Regions from separate parts of the Homo sapiens genome. Here regions 2 and 3 are each linked to region 1. Evidence: promoter capture Hi-C in 16 types of primary human blood cells and fetal thymus (Javierre and others, 2016). All regions are on one chromosome and are shown on one strand. Each heading gives the region's core, a stretch centred on a gene start or on the middle of the fragment in contact. The rest is flanking DNA. Distances are from core to core; before and after follow the strand shown.

Region 1 (3,016 bases), core at 1-2,500:
CTCAGTGATGCCTCTCTTGCCGGGTAGGGGCTGGGAGTCCCCGTGCATCCTGTCTCTGGCCCATGAGGGGCTGCAGCACTGTGGGCGCCAGAGCACAGATTAAACTCTCAAACCCACACTGGCTCAGGTGTCCTTGCTCTCACCTTGCATTGGCCCGGGTGATGCCGTCTCACCACGGGTGGGAGGACTCAAAGTAGATGGGTAACTGGGGTTCCAACTCCAGAGCTGGAATGCCAACTGCCCACTCCCAGCCTGGTTCAGAGGAAGATGTTTTGAAGAATGAGGGAAAGCCAGGCACAAAGGGAAGCCAGGGAAGCAAAGGGCCCTGGAGTGAAGCTGGTGGGCTGCCGTGTCAGAGCGCCCAGGGCAGGGAGCAGAGCTCAGAAGTAATGCTGGCCCGGGCGCAGTGGCTCACACCCGTAATCCCAACGCTTTGGAAGGCTGAGGCAGGTGGATTACTTGAGATCAGGAGTTCAAGACCAGCCTGGCCAAAATGGTGAAAACCCATCTCTACTAAAAATACAAAAATTAGCGGGACTTGGTGGCATGTATCTGTAATCCCAGCTACTAGGGAGGCTGAGGCATGAGAATTGTGTGAACCCGGGAGGCAGAGGTTGCAGTGAGCTGAGATCACGCCACTGCACTCCAGCCTGGGGGACACAGCGAGACTCCGTCTCAAAAAAAAAAAAGTTGGGCTAGGCGGGCCCCCGAGGCTGGCCTGACTGTCCCAGGGGCACAGGCTCCAGCAGGCTGCCTGTCTGTGGTCCAGGCTTCAGGAACCCCCGGTCTTGGGTGTGCGGGGGCTGGGAAGTGGCTGGGGGTGCACAGTCCCACACCTGTCATTCACTGAACAGGCACGTATTGACAGCTTGTGGCGTGTCAGGCCCTGTGCCCAACTCTGGGAGTCAAGGATAACCTGACAGACTCAGGCCACTTTAGGAAAACGAAATCCACCCCAACCACACTTAGCGAGTCACCCTGGCCGGGCCTGGGCTGCCCTCCAGTCGGTCAGCCGGACTGGATTTCCACGCGGCCGAGCCCTACGCCTCCCAGACCCTGAGCTCCAGTCTGCACAGGCCAGGTGTCTGGAGCCGGGCCTGGTGACAGGCATCCCCCAGGTGGGAGGAGGGGCTGTCCTGGCTCTGACCTGGATATCAGATCCAGAGCTGAGGGGGAGGCGCAGGGTCAGGAGGGGAGGGGTTCTGTTCTGAGTTTCCCCTGGCCAAGGCTGCAGACAAGGGACGCAGACAATCGGCACATTGTGAGCAGGGGCTGCAGGATGGAACCAGCAAGCTGCTGTGCTGAGCGCCCCAAACCTGGGCCTACAGGGGTGAGTGCCTCCCGTTACTCCTGCAGCAAGGACCCAGGGGGTGCCCCAGGCCACCCAGCCCCTCCCTTCCCCAGCCCACTTGCTCCCTGATGTCTAACCCTCATGACCCTTCTGACCCTGATGCACGCCCAGGTGAAGACCAAGCCCTCCTGCGGGGGCTGGAGAGCCGTGAGCCTGCTCCTGCTGCTGCTGCTGCTGGTGCTGGCCGCTGTGGGGGTTGTGGCTGGAGGGCTTCTTGGCTCTGCTCAGGGCCCTCCCAAGGTGAGCCCCTCCTCAGCACCAGGGACATGGACAGTGGAAAGGGAGAAGGGAAGCTGGCATATCCCAGCCTCCAGCAGAGCAAGGGTGCGGAGCAGGCAGTGACACCACCTAGGAGCAGACAGCCAGAGGACCAAGGGGTGGAAGGGCCCACTCAGGGGTGTCAGGAGTCCTGCAGCCCAGAGCTGGAGGCTGTGCTGGGGTTGCACAGCTGCCCGGCTGAACTCCAACTCCCACTGCCAGCCAAGGCTGCAGACGCTGCGAATGACCCTCCCGAGCCCCCACATGCCCCGGCCCAACCAAACCATCCTGGTGGACGTGGCCCGGAACGCGGCGACCATCACAGTGACCCCACCTCAGAGCAACCACAGCTGGGCGGTGCTGTTCGACGGGCAGAGCGTGAGTGGGCAGGGAGGGGTCACCCTGGCAGGTGTCGGTCTGGGGGGCCCCGCCTCACCCCCCTGCCTCCCCAGGGCTGCATCTGTTACCGCCCTGAGGAGCACCAGGTCTGCTTCCTCCGCCTGATGGAGGACAGTGATCGGGAGACCCTGCGGCTGCTGGTGGATACCTCCAAGGTGAGCCGTCCTGCTGGGCGCAGGCCCGGGCCAGGGGCTAGACAAAGGGTCCTGTGTGCAGCCCAGTACGGGACAGGCTGGAGCTGTGGTTTCAGGGAACAGGAAGCTCTCTCCGCCCTAAGCCCAGGCTGCTGACAAGAGCTGAGGGTGGGGACATCACTGGGGGTTGGAGGGTACCCGGCCCTGCCAAGCCAGGAGCAGGGAGCAGCCCTGTCCCACCGCCCACCAGAGCCTTCTCAACAGGTCCAAGAGGCTTGGGTCCCCAGCCAGGACACCCACCACACCCAGGAGCTGCTGGCAGTGCAGGGGAGCCTCGAAGTGGACCCCGCCCAGGCGGGGGCTTTGGTGCAGCGCCTGTGCATGAGGACCCCCATCTACTGGGCCCGGCGAGCAGAGGGTGAGTCAGGACCGCTGTGGGGGAAGGCCAGGCCCTCGGGATGGTTTGAGGAGCTGGGGGCGGAGCCCTTGGAGATTCACGGCACCCTCGCCACAGGGCCCCGGAGACAGCGGCTGATTTATCTCTGCATCGACATCTGCTTCCCGAGCAACATCTGCGTGTCGGTCTGCTTTTATTACCTCCCAGACTGAGCCCCCGACCTGGCCCAGCCTGGCCCGTCCCCAATCCAGTGGGCTGGCCAGGCCACCTGCACCAGGGAGGACAGCTGCTGGCAGGGACTAATAAACCCTTCCACCTGGCCATGGTGGTGGTGTTCTCTATGGACCGAGGCCCTGAAACGCGGGCAGGGAGGGGCAGAGAACACACTAGCTTGGGGGTGGGCACCAGCCTCAGACCCCTCAGCAGCTTTGGGCCCTCGGCCGACTTTCCCAGGCAGTGCAGGCTAGCCCAGTCCAG
Region 2 (3,409 bases), core at 60-2,559, 200 kb after region 1:
TGTCGTGATCTCGGCTCACTGCAACCTCTGCCTCACGGTTTCAAGAGATTCTACTGCCTCAGGCTGCCGAGTAGCTGGGACTACAGGCACATGTCACCACGCCCGGCTAATTTTTGTATTTTTAGTAGAGATGGGGTTTCACCATTTTGGTCAGGCTTGTCTCCAATTCCTGACCTCAGGTGATCCCAACCTCCCAAAGTGCTGGGATTACAGGCGTGAGCCACCACGCCCGGCCTAAAAATTTTTTTTGTGGAGATGGAGCCTGACTGTGTAGGCCAGGCTGGTCTCAAATTCCCAGGCTCCAGCAATCCGGGCCACCCAGCCTCCCAAACTGCTGGGATTACAGGCTTGAGCCACTGTGCCTGACAGCTTTTTTCAAGTGGCAAAATTGGGGTTTCAAGCCCATTTGTGTCTGTTTCTAAAGTCCAAGTTCACTGGGCATGGATCACTTGAGCCCAGGAGGTTGAGGCCTCAGTGTGCTGTGATCGTACCACTGTGTTACAGCAAGAGCAAGACCCGGTCTCAAATAAAGTAAGTAAAGTTCAGGCTCATTGATACAATTTACTGCCTCTTTTCCAGTAGGGTTTAGATCTGGACCTGCCTTCTGGATGGCAGAGGGAGGGAGGTCCTGAGTGTGCCTGGCCCTCAAGGGTAGGGAGGAGGCCCTGTTACTGCAGCATCCATCCAAACACGTCCTGTGCTGGGCCCAGCGTAAAGAGGACAGGTTCCGTTCGTGCCTTCCAGAGGCCCCTTCTGGGCAGGCCTGGCGAGACTGCCCTGGGCTGCGAGATGGACGTCACCACGTGCTGCCTTTCACGTTGTCTTTCATGTAGGGATTTAAACAGGGCATTAGGGAAGTGGAGGCGGGACCACGCTTGTGTGTGTTCCAAATACCAGAGACCGGTTTCCTAATAAGGTGGCCAGATTTAGCAAATACAAATACGGCAGGTCCACTTAAATGTCAATTTCAGATAAGGAGCAGCATTTTAGTATGAGCCTAGCCCATCAATATTTGGGCTATACTTACACTAAGACATGACCCCTTGTTCATCTGAGATGCAAACCAGTTGTGCCGTGTTTCATCTGACAACGCCAGTTCGTGGAGCCCGGCGAGTGTTGACGTGACACGCGTGGCCCAGAGGAGCCCGGGGCTGGCCGCGTGGCCGCGCGGACCTTCGAGCGGTCGGCTCATGGTAGAGCGGCCTCTATCAGGGCCACCGCTCTAGCCGGCGCCGCGCTGAGGCGGAAGTCGCGACGCGCACTTGCGCCGGGCGGGCCCGTTGCTGGGTGGGGCGGTGACGTTTGCCCGGAAGGGGCGGGCCCGCCGGGAGCCAGGCCGCTCGGCGCCACGACCGGCCGAGAGGGGGGCCGGATCCCGGACCATGGCGGCGGCCGGGGGGCGCCGAGGGGCGGCGCGCGGACATGGAGGCGGAGGCGGCGGCAGCTCCTGAGCGGGGAGGCGGGAGCTGCGTGCTGTGCTGCGGAGACCTGGAGGCCACGGCGCTGGGGCCGCTGCGACCACCCGGTGTGCTACCGCTGCTCTACCAAGATGCGGGTGCTCTGCGAGCAGCGCTACTGCGCCGTGTGCCGCGAGGAGCTGCGCCAGGTGCGGGGCGCCGGGGGCGCGGCCCGGGGGCAGCGGGGCTCCCGGCGACCGGATGGGGACTTTGCCTCACTGAGGTCCGGCCGTGGGCCCGGCGGCGCCGGCTTCCGAGAGAGGCCTGGTGGGGCCACCCAGGGCGGGGTCCCGGCCGTGCGGCTGACGGCGGGGCGTTGGGGCTTGGAGGCCGGAGGCGGCCGAGCGGGTTGCAGGAGGGGGCAAGCCCTGTGGGGACAGCCTGGGGACTTCCCCCGTGTCCCGGGGGTTCCTGCCGGGCCTCAGGAAGGGTCCTGATCAGATGGAGAACTCGGTGACCTGCTCGTCTTCAGGAGTTTATTTTCCAGGGTCCTCCATTCGAGGAAACAAGGCAAGGGGGACTCTGCGGAGGCCATCCGTCCTGGAAGCAGGGCGTCAAACTCTGGGCATTCTCAGCCCAGCTGTGTTTCTGGGCCCCCATTGGATGACCCTGAGCAAACTCCTTCCGAGACTGACGTTTTCCTCTGTGGAGTGGAGGTGACACTAGCCTCGGAAGGAGACCTGCCCGTCGGAGGGGAAGGCCCCCTCGCGCTTCTTGGCGGGAAGGGAGAAAAGTGTTAGGAAGTTGTCCTCCTCCTCGCCGCCGCCCCCCGCCTTTGGCGCTCATCTCCGCAGTGAATGGGAGACGTTTTTGACTGTACAGACTTGGAAGCCGTGGAGGGGTCAGAGGGTACCATGCAGCGTTCCTCCACCCTCACTGCACTGCCAGCTGCTGGCTGTGGGCACCTGGCTGGAGCCCGTTGGTTTGCTGAGCTTAGAGATTTGTTTGCTTCCAGCATTGTGAAATTCCCCCGGTTTGTTCATAGAAGGCTTCGGCTGGTGACATCTGCCAGGAATCTAACTTTCTTCTCCCCAGAAGTGATGCAGAGCAGTATTGAGGTGTAGGTTCTTTCTTTTTTTCCTTTTCTTTCTTTAAGTAGACGTTTACATCAAAGGAGTTGAAGAGATGCTGCAATTCTCTGAGCAATTTGTGGGCTTATAGTCTGTGCCCTTTTTGGAAAAAGACATTTGGAGATTCTATCAGTCTGTCATGTGACAGGAGGAGGCCGACCCAGACCCCGGGGAGATCTGGGGTGCAGGAACAGTCACAGAGGACCTTGGCCCGTGGCTTCCTCAGGGCGCTTCCTGGCTTTGCCAGGGCCTGCCTTGCCAGCCAGTCCTGCATAGCATGACCTCACTCTCCAACAGCTAGGTTTCCCAGCACACCTGTAGCTTCCTTCCGGAAAGAAGACGCTAAGGAGTTCTTGGCACGTGAGGTCCCGACCCAGGCTGCAGGTCTGATGCAAGACATGAGTGAACATCTGCGTATGCTTACTGTGGCAGCCTCTGCCCGCTCTCATTCCTTGTAGGCCCCACGCCCTCCAGGAGCTCTGTGGCTGGGGGCTGCGGACATGAGCTGTCAGCCGGGGTGTGGTTTGGCACTGGGTGCCCCCAGCCGGCTTCCTCTAGGGCCTACCCCGCCTTACTGGGCTGAAGGAGGGGCTCCTGGAAAGTTTGCTGTTTGCTGGTCTCCTCTCCTTTGCATTCGTTCTATTTTCTTCCCATCTTGAGCTTGCCGCCTCACTCTAGTCTCCTTTTTCCTTACTGAGTTCAGCACCATCCCCTGAATATATTCTGTGTCCCATGCGTGCTCAGGAATTCCCACTGCAACCCTCAACTCCTGAACCCTGGCGTTGCCTTGGCCTCCCTTATGGGACTAAGGTTTTGCGAAAATTGTGAGGAAAGTGTCCAGGATGCCGTGTGGAATCGGCTGGCTCCATGTGCTTGTTAGTT
Region 3 (3,335 bases), core at 9-2,508, 250 kb before region 1:
GCCAGGGAGGTGACTGCGGGCGACGCCGGGATTTTGGTTTGGGTAACTGGGTAGATGGGGGCGCCATTATCGCGCTTCTCTTGCAGGGGGCCGGTGAAGGTTATACGAGAGGCTCCATCTGTCCTTATTGAAAGTGCTCTTAACGCAGGGACCAGCCGTCTTGCTGACGCCTGGGCCACCGAGCACAGGGACAGGACGGGGTTGCTGGAGGTGAGGATTCCGCGTGTCAGGGGCGGGGATGAAGGAGGAGAAAGTGTTCACTTTTGGACATGTGACGTGATAGCACTGGGCAGAGGGGAGGAAGCTCAGACCTTGGAGCAGTGGGCCAGGCGAGGTGGCCCCTGGTGGGGCAGGGGACGGGTAGGGACAGATCACGGGGCCCACGCAATGGCCAGGGAGGTGGAGGAGCAGTAGGACAGTGTCACAGAGGCAACAGGAGGCTGTCACGGGAGGGAGTGGGTCACAGGCCAAGTGCTGCTGAGGCCTCGGCGGTGTACACAGCACAGCAGGGGGGCGGGGGTACAGGGCCTTCGGTGATGCGGGGGACACCTGAGGGAGGAAGTGAGGAAGGCAGCAGGGCCCCATGTAGTTGGTGTTAACAAGAATAAACAATTAGGGGGCAAGAAATCCCAGGCGGTAGCTGAAAGAAAAACAGAGCCTGGGGTTGCTGTTTAAAGATGGGACAGGTGAGTCCATTCCATAGTCGTTAATGGGAAGGTGCCATCGCAGAGGGGAAGGAGGGCACAAAGGGAGTTGTCAGGGAGGTTGGGACCCAGGCAGCTCTGGCCCAGCGCTCCGGGTGGGCCCCTCCATCAGCGGTGGGGGAGGGTGACGGTGGCCCTGCCTCCCTGGAGATTCTCTGTGAAGGAGGAGGCAGGGAAATGCTCAGTCAGCAGGTGGGTGATGCAGGAACCCACCCACCACAGGCAGGCGGGGCCAGGTCCCCCTGGAGTGGTTTCCTCCTTCAGGTGCAAGCTGGGAGAAAGCAGAGAACTGACTCCATGCAGAGTTGGGATTAAGAGCCCCTGGACAAGGGGCCGAGGCAGTGAAGGACGTCCATCACTCATCTGCCACTATCCTCCTCACATTTAATCCTCACAACACCCCTGTGAGGTAGGTATCATTGCCCCCCTTACAGATGAGGAAACTGAGGCTCACACATGCCCAGGGGCACACAGTCGACAGGACGGGTCTACAGTTCCAACGCTTGGGTTCTCACCCCGACCACACCCCACCCAGGGTGGCCAGAATTCCCTTATAGTAGCAAAAAGACAGCTGCCGCGGACATGAACACACATAGCACCAGCACACATAAAAGCAGCAGCTCAGTGAGCATCTCCCATCCCTGGGTTTCCGGTTCAAGAGCATTTGGGGGCCAGGCGCCGTGGCTCATGCCTGTAATCCCAGCACTTTGGGAGACCGAAGTGGGCGGATCACTTGAGGTCATGAGTTCGAGACTAGCCTGGCCAACATGGTGAAATCCCGTCTCTACCGAAAATACAAAAATTAGCTGGGCGTGGTTGGGTGCTTGTAATCCCAGCTACCCAGGAGGCTGAGGCAGGAGTATCCGGGAGGCGGAGGTTACAGTGAGTTGAGAGTTGAGATCATGCCACTGCACTCCAGCCGGGGAGACAAGAGCAAAACTGTCTCCAAAAAAAAAAAAAAAAAAGCATCTGGGGGACACTTCTGGCCAAGTGGTTCTTTCTTACATTTGCAGAGTAAACAGAAGTGGATGGCAGCAGGGTGTGTTGTGGTCAGCCCGTTCCCAGGGAGAGGCCATGGTCACATGGCCCCAGGCAGGCTCCCCAGGCGTGGGCTGCTGGCTCCCAGGCTCCCTTTCCATGCAGGAGCAGAGTCTCCGTGGCCAGCAGGAAAGCCCAGGGGTCTGCCTCCCTCCCACGGGCCCCCACAGCAGAGCTGCAGTTGGGATCAGCCAGGACACGGCCCCCGACTGCTCTGCTCTTCTGCCTCTTGGTCACCTCAGATGTTACAGAGGACTTGAAGTTTTTTCTGGCTAGCCTATCTGGGAAAATTCTTTTTGCATAAAGTGTGTCAGGATGGCATTGAGGGGCTGGAGTAAGATTTTTGTTTTGCAGGTGAACCTAAATAATGGTGGGAATCTCTTGTTTTTTTAATACCTTCTGTTTTAAGTTTTTCTTTTGTTTTCATCTTGGAAGAAGGAAATTTAGAAATAAGACAGGAAAAGAATGGCCCAGAAATTCAGCACAAAGAGAGGTGTTCACATTGACGCCATCTGTGGGTCACATACGAACGCCTCTGGGACAGAGCTCTAAAACGAGTCACGTGTCGTAGGGAGTGGGCCTGTGGCCAAGGCAGTCCTCGCAGTGTGCAGGGACGCAGGCCCCCTTACCATGGAAGCCCCACCCAGAAGGAAGTGGGTGCCCCATGCAGGCCGAGGTGGATGAGGGGACAGTGGTGTGCTCACAGCTGTCAGCTCCCCACTGAAGCCCCAAACCAGCAGATGTGGGCAGGGGCTCAAGTGGTGTCTGACTACCCAGGTCACACGTGCCTTAAGCGTGAAAGCTGTCAGCTCCCGGCACGGGGCTCTGGTGGGGCTGGGAACACCAGGACACACATGGGCTGAAGCTTCCAGAGACAGTGAGACACGGAAGGGACAGAGAGGTGCCCTCCACACAGTGTGGCCAACTGCTTCCAGGCTAAACTTTCCAAAGAGAGGGATCTGAGCTCTTCACCCTCATTTCAACATTCTGATGGCTTGCACGGGACTCCCGCGGAGACAGAAACTTGGTGGCCGCAAGTCATCCTCTCTGCTCTCTGCGCAAAGGCCTCCATGGTCTATGCAGCGTTCCTATGCTATGCTCCCACCCTTCGCCTCCAGCCCCCTCAGTACACATCCACTGCGGCAAATGTGCTGACACACTTACAGCCTCACAAGGCCCAGGTTCATGTCCTCCTCCTCACTGTGTATGCATAGGTTTATCCGCTTCACCTGTTGCTGGGGAACACTGCTCTCCGGGGGACTTGGGGGACGACACTGTAAACATGACTTCCTGGCCTGATGGTGGCAGGGCTGTGTGTGCGAGTCACTGTCCAGGGACAGCACTGAGGTAGGTTGGGGCAGGGCCCCCAAGCCACCGTCCACGGAGCTTGTGGGACTTGCGGTGCTGACGGAGGAGTACCCTGAGGTCGTGACGTCCTTCCCTGGCTCCCGGCTGGTGCGGACCAGGGGTTTGGGTCCAGGGGTTGCAGGGATCTGGGTGTCCAGCGCCAGTGCCTGTGGGTCCTGGGGTCCCTTGTCCTCTGGACAAGCCTCCTCATCACTGGATTCCTGGCAGCAATGCTGTTCTGGGTTC

Evidence for each region. Contacts are between HindIII fragments. The CHiCAGO score rates a contact against its expected background, and 5 or more counts as called.
Region 2: the fragment with the promoter of ZNF598 here is called in contact with the fragment with the promoter of BRICD5 in region 1 in 5 of 17 cell types (erythroblasts, M0 macrophages, M1 macrophages and 2 more); the score reaches 11.4 in erythroblasts.
Region 3: a fragment that was not itself captured here is called in contact with the fragment with the promoter of BRICD5 in region 1 in 7 of 17 cell types (erythroblasts, endothelial precursors, fetal thymus and 4 more); the score reaches 6.7 in erythroblasts.

What each region holds. Positions count from the first base shown.
Region 1 is chr16:2,209,097-2,212,112 of GRCh38, reverse strand. It overlaps BRICD5 (BRICHOS domain containing 5), which reads left to right and starts at 1,250. Exons shown (of 6, transcript NM_182563.4): 1 at 1,250-1,330; 2 at 1,463-1,591; 3 at 1,832-1,987; 4 at 2,062-2,163; 5 at 2,407-2,560; 6 at 2,657-2,860. The coding sequence starts at 1,280. The coding sequence ends at 2,751. It overlaps PGP (phosphoglycolate phosphatase), which reads left to right. Exons shown (of 2, transcript NM_001042371.3): 2 at 1-520. It overlaps MLST8 (MTOR associated protein MLST8), which reads right to left. Exons shown (of 9, transcript NM_022372.6): 9 at 2,660-3,016. RefSeq lists an enhancer at 1-365 and a silencer at 1,805-1,995. The HindIII fragment of the contact is 35,834 bases long and covers 1-3,016 here.
Region 2 is chr16:2,007,721-2,011,129 of GRCh38, reverse strand. It overlaps ZNF598 (zinc finger protein 598, E3 ubiquitin ligase), which reads left to right and starts at 1,309. Exons shown (of 14, transcript NM_178167.5): 1 at 1,309-1,392; 2 at 1,394-1,505; 3 at 1,507-1,606. The coding sequence starts at 1,383. LOC124903626 (a long non-coding RNA gene) reads right to left here and starts at 1,245. Exons shown (of 2, transcript XR_007064941.1): 1 at 1,028-1,245; 2 at 542-822. RefSeq lists enhancers at 951-1,110, 635-1,583 and silencers at 1,191-1,410, 1,501-1,930, 1,941-2,010. The HindIII fragment of the contact is 28,758 bases long and covers 1-3,409 here.
Region 3 is chr16:2,456,588-2,459,922 of GRCh38, reverse strand. CCNF (cyclin F) reads right to left here. Exons shown (of 17, transcript NM_001761.3): 17 at 1,069-3,335. The coding sequence ends at 2,903. It overlaps LOC105371050 (a long non-coding RNA gene), which reads left to right. Exons shown (of 5, transcript NR_188689.1): 1 at 1-9; 2 at 87-210; 3 at 969-1,113; 4 at 2,957-3,089. Among named protein-coding and RNA genes, the nearest start is that of TEDC2, 1.9 kb to the left of the region's middle. RefSeq lists enhancers at 206-295, 526-1,340. The HindIII fragment of the contact is 2,703 bases long and covers 1-2,609 here.